Regions from separate parts of the Homo sapiens genome. Here region 2 is linked to region 1. Evidence: promoter capture Hi-C in 16 types of primary human blood cells and fetal thymus (Javierre and others, 2016). All regions are on one chromosome and are shown on one strand. Each heading gives the region's core, a stretch centred on a gene start or on the middle of the fragment in contact. The rest is flanking DNA. Distances are from core to core; before and after follow the strand shown. Region 1 holds the start of RSPO2 (R-spondin 2). Region 2 overlaps EIF3E (eukaryotic translation initiation factor 3 subunit E).

Evidence for each region. Contacts are between HindIII fragments. The CHiCAGO score rates a contact against its expected background, and 5 or more counts as called.
Region 2: a contact is called between a fragment that was not itself captured here and the fragment with the promoter of RSPO2 in region 1, in 3 of 17 cell types (M2 macrophages, monocytes and M0 macrophages). The highest score is 6.4, in M2 macrophages.

Annotation. Positions count from the first base shown.
Region 1 is chr8:108,082,262-108,084,961 of GRCh38, forward strand. It overlaps RSPO2 (R-spondin 2), which reads right to left and starts at 1,359. Exons shown (of 6, transcript NM_178565.5): 1 at 936-1,359; 2 at 284-546. The coding sequence starts at 377. RefSeq lists an enhancer at 1-498 and a silencer at 215-390. The HindIII fragment of the contact is 4,613 bases long and covers 1-2,700 here.
Region 2 is chr8:108,212,799-108,215,498 of GRCh38, forward strand. EIF3E (eukaryotic translation initiation factor 3 subunit E) reads right to left here. Exons shown (of 13, transcript NM_001568.3): 10 at 1,809-1,918. Among named protein-coding and RNA genes, the nearest start is that of EIF3E, 35 kb to the right of the region's middle. The HindIII fragment of the contact is 5,072 bases long and covers 1-2,700 here.

The DNA of each region.
Region 1 (2,700 bases), core at 109-2,608:
GAACATGAGTGCGGACCGCACGACTTAGCCCTGAGCGCCCGATTGGCGCCCGGCTCGCCGAGCTCCCAGCGCGTCTCGCTCCGGCTCCCCGCGCCTCCAGGGTACAGAAAACAGAGTGTTTTGTAGAGCTCCAGGGTCCTAAAGGTGGGGACTGGGGACCCGCAAAAGCTGGGGTGGAGAGCACAGCCCTGACCATCTGAGCCCCCGGAGCCAGGGCGTGAGTGAGCGCCTCCACACGCCACCCCTGAAGCCCACCACGCACCTTTGGCAGAGAGGGACCCACCTCGCTTACTGCGTCTCCATCGGTTGCCTTGGCAGTGGCTGTAATCCATGCAGTTCAGAATGATGAGGGCAAAGGAGAAAAGGCGAAACTGCATCTGGGCGGTCGGGCGGGGGAGAGACGCCTCTCAAAGTCTAGGAACTGGAGGGTTCGCCCAAAGAGCCGGCGCCGGCCGCGCTGCTGGGGAGGACTCAGAGGGAGACTCGCCACTCACCCCCGGGCCGCACCGGTCAGTTCAGCGCGATCAGCATCTCTCCGCCACGAACCTGAGAGACAAGAAGCGAAAACAGGGTGTGTGGGGGATGGAGAGAGCCCCGGGGAGGCAGCTGCGCCTTCGCACGTCCCAATTTAAAGAAGAGAGGGAAGGAGGAAGCGAACCCACTGCCTAGCACGAGCCGCGGAGCGGCTTAATCCAGAGCGGGCAGCTGCGGACGAGTTGGAGAGGAAGGTGATTATAATCAGTGAATTAGCAACCTCTGCCGAGCCCTAAGCTCCGACCCAGCGGCATAATGCGTTGTGCCGGCGCTCCGGGGAAAGGAAAGAACTCTAAAGGCACTGAGAGCGCAGGGCTAAAAGAACGCTCTTAGGCCATTTGGAGTCCACGGCGGTGTACCCAAGCGCCGCAGCTGCGGCTGCCTTGGTGTGGGTTGCCTACCGTGCGCACGTCTCGGGCGGCGCGGCCTCCCTAGGCGCGGTGCTCCATCCCGGGCTCGGGAAGCGAGCCGCTTGGTTAGCACGTGGGCTGGGGAAAAGTTTGCCGAGACCGGCTGGGAGCGCCTGGCAGCTCTGGAATTCCAGCGGCCGCCGCGGGGTTGGCGACGCCAGGCAGGAGCGCGGAGCGGCGGGTGCAGCCACTGGGATGCTCCGTCCCCGCCCGCGAGCGCGGTCCCCAGGCAAGGGGTGCGCCCGCTCACACTCTCTGCCTCCCTAACCAATTGTGTCGCTTCCTGCGCTTTCTCCACGGTCACTTCACAGCTAAGATTTCTTTCTTTCCGAGCTGTAGAAGGCAGAACGCTCTCGGGAGGACGAAGTGATCCGAAGGGATGTGGCAAGCGCACTTTCCGATGGAGATGCAGACCGGCTGAGGCTTGGGATGCTTCTATAAGTAGGTGGTGCTGTGGTCCAAGGCATCTAAGTCTAGGCTGCCTCGGAGTTCCTGGGTCCTAAAGCCAGAAACGTCCCGGTTTCCCTGAGGTCCTAAAGAACGTTGACAGCCAACAGCGCGCCTAACTTGGAGCGAATCCTCTTCGGGCTTTCCAGAGTGCGGGGGATAGATAAAGAGTAGCTGGGGAGACGCCCCCTGACCTTGCTGGGTCCCAGAACCCGGCTGCTCACCCCCAAGGGGTCCTCTCCAGCCCTCTAGGGTCAGTTCCAACCTCAGCGCCAACCTTTCTGCAGGGAGATCTGACTGAAGGACTGATGACTCCCTTTAAACTTTTGCAATATGCCACAACTCTGCCACTTTTTAATTTACATCTTGTCTGTGTTTTGCAGGAAGGTATGTTAGCCGGCTGAAATTATTCATAAAACGCGCCCCCACTTTGAGGAGTGAAATGGGTATTCCCAACAGCTTTTGTTCATCCTCAGAACTGTTATTTACTTTGTTTCTTCTCCAATAAAACAAAAACCTGTGATCCGTTGCCTGAAGTGCTGAAGAAGTTGGGGCCTTGATTCTTTAAAAATAATTTTAAAAAGTTCACTTCCCACTAAAGTATTTTTCATTCTTAATCCTCCTCTCATTTCCAAAGTCTCCTGAATTAAACTTTTAGGTGCTTTGGGTTTGGGGAAAATATTCTGTTTAACAAAGTGTTACATTAAATAGACTTGATGCCATCCAATTTCATTCTGGTGAAATCTGTCCTGCATTCACTACTGTAGGAAAAAATGTATTTATTCCTTAAGCAAAAGATAAGAATTTATGCCACTAACCGTGGCAGTATGAATGTCTATAGATATGCCCGCAGTTACCATATTATTATGATAGCATTTTATACTATTTAAATTCCCTTTTCTATTCCTTCAGTTTCAGAAGATGTTCAGAAATTTGATGACTTAAAAGACAATCATATAAAAAGAATATTGCAATACTCATATTTATTAACTATTCCATTATTGCCTATTCATAACTATTTTACAGACTCACTATTACATAGTGGTATTTATGTGCTAAGAATTTCAGCAGTATGCCTTTGATGCATGCCTGAGAACACCCAAGTAAATCTGAGTTGAGGTCATTGGTCCCATTTCATAGATAAGAAAATCCATCACTGAGACTGGCCCACAGGGCACAAATAGAGTTCACAAAACACATTGCAGAAACAGTGGATCTGTTTCTTGACTTTTGAGCCTTTGATTTTTATCACAGAATTTGGAAACATTTCAGTGTAGGGAGTGGCCCCAGTGTTTGGCATAACTTGATA
Region 2 (2,700 bases), core at 101-2,600, 130 kb after region 1:
CTCCCCCCAAAAAAAGAAAGAAAAAGAAAAACATACATTATTGATCTATGTACTCTTAATCATCTTAGTAAAACATTGAAAAAAAAATTGAAGAACTGAAGTGAAAGAAAATGCTACTACTAGAAAAAAAAATATTTTTAGACTCTGGAAAGCCACTAGGACTTTAGTCTGAAAATGCTTTGTAGATTTTTGTCTAGCAGAAAACTACAGAGATCAAGGAAGTAATAAAAATCTACACGGAGAAAAGTCTGAAAAATTCTTAGGTAGTGTCACATAAAGGTATATAGAAACATTCCCACTCTATTAACTTCTTTGAGCTGCACATCTCCCTTCAGTAAGGAGAACACATACTTAATCTATGTTCCTCTTAAAAGATAATAAACCAAATCCCAAGAAAGAAAATAATGAATACATGGCTGCAGAGTTAAAGGAAAAGAGCTACAACAAATCTTATTGATAGTACCTCGGAAGCAAACACCAAAGCAGACAAGCATTATCATGGACAAAAATGCCAAGTTCACTAATAACAGAAGAAATTTACTTAACAAATATTTATATTGTATACTCACACTATACTGTACAAAGCATATTAGGTGCTACAAAGTTAGTATGTTAGGTGCTAAAGATGCAAAAAAAAGGGTCAGCTTTCAAAAGGCCCACAACAGCGGTAGTAGCTAAGTCAGTTCTGGACCAAAAAGCACCCAAATGACCACATTCTAATGAGAAATGGAGAAAATTCTACAAGGGAAACCAAAATACTAACATCCCTCTTTCACAAGCCCTAATTACAAACCTTAAAAACAAAGAACAATGCAAGAATTCAGTTACTACTATCCACCGGAGCCCCACATATGATGTACCTACCTCTTTATTTCATAACCAATTACATTATTAGGAATTTTCATGTAATTTGTAAGAGAATCAGGTTTAAAAAATTCTGTCTGCAAGCTACAGTAAAGTGCTAATAAAACTGTGAAGGCAAGGATTCAATTCCCATAGGAAAAATCCCATGATTATACTATCCTTCTAACTCTGGACAACCACTTCAACGGACGGCCCACTAAAATTAGGCAAGCGAAGTATGGATAAGCAAAAACAAATGGCATTAAAGAAAAAGAATTTGTTTTATGCACAATTCCTCAGAAGCAAACACTAAAGCAGTAGGTTTTTAAACATTTGTTTGACTTCCTCTGTGCCCAAAGGGCACTAGTCATTTTTCAAACTGTAATGTGTACAATTTATTTCTAATAGGTTATGTACATTTCACAATTTTTTCCCAATATTTTCTGACAAAACAGGAAATTACAACTAAAATTCACTATAATTTTTCCATCTTTCAACATTTTAAGATGCCATAGGAGTTTACTATAGGAGAAGTCAAATATGTAATTAAATCATACAAACTAAATGGAAAGGATTACCAAATGTAGTGGTCTTTCAACAGAATTTCCAATTTAATGGGTATCTCCTTTGTACTGTTGTTGAAAACCATTTTAGAAATGTTTACTACACTTTTCTCCTTACGTAAAGGTACAAGAGTATTTACTCTTCAATAAGGTAACTGATAATCATATATTGCCTTCAACTTAGTATTTTGAAAAATTATGCCACTCAAGCTAAAACTATCTGAGCCTGTAGCAAAAGTTAGGTTTTTAAATAATTTTATCAAATTGTTTCATTGTTCTTCTGAAAGCAAAAATAAATAAAAATCCAATTAACTGGAATTCTATTAAGTGTAAATTCACAATAAATGGAAATTTCCAGGAATTTTAAAGTAGAAAATCCAAATCAAATCACGGTGTTCTTACTTAATGCTGATACACTGGTGGATGCGACAGAAAGTCTCAAATATGAAGAGACGGGCATTTTCAATGAAATCCTCAAGACAAGCCACCAAGAAGAAGTCATTCACAAGCACCTATATGTACAAATACAACAAAAATTAATGATGCTGACAAGCAATTGCCTGAAACGTGAATCAAATACTTTATCTGCTTTATTTTTCCATTCTACAATCATGAGTTTTATACCACAGCACTTTCTAGAACACTGTGTTCAAATCTTTAATGATTTAAATAAGTAGTAAACGAATACCACAAGATAAAGACCTAAAAACTGCAATGTTTCTGATAACTTTAATAAAGTAGCCTTCTGACAACAAAGTTTGGTACTATCCATTATTCTACATAAATGCTCTGCAGATAATGTTATCTCTTCCAACTATTTAAAATAATTATAAATGGACTACAAGCTCGGAGTATTTCTACAATATTAAGTAGACTTAGAAATTAGAAGGAAAAGAATGCAAAAGGTGGCTACTATTCCACAGATGGTGTAATTAAGAGAGAATATTTTAATTTCAAGAACAGCAACCAAGTACCCTCTAGGTCTTTTAACATCAAAACCTAGACACTTAGCATAATGAATATACGCCAATATTTACCTTAATAATGCAATATATGACTACAAAAAAAAACACCAATTACCATATTGGATTCTAATTTTCTATTCCATCTAATGTTTGAAAATCATCAGGGAGGCCAGGTGCGGTGGCTGACGCCTGTAATCCCAGCACTTTGGGAGGCCGAGGTGGGCAGATCACAAGATCAGGAGATCGAGACCATCCTGGCTAACATGGTGAAACCCTGTCTCTACTAAAAATACAAAAAATTAACCGGGCGTGGTGGTGGGCGCCTATGG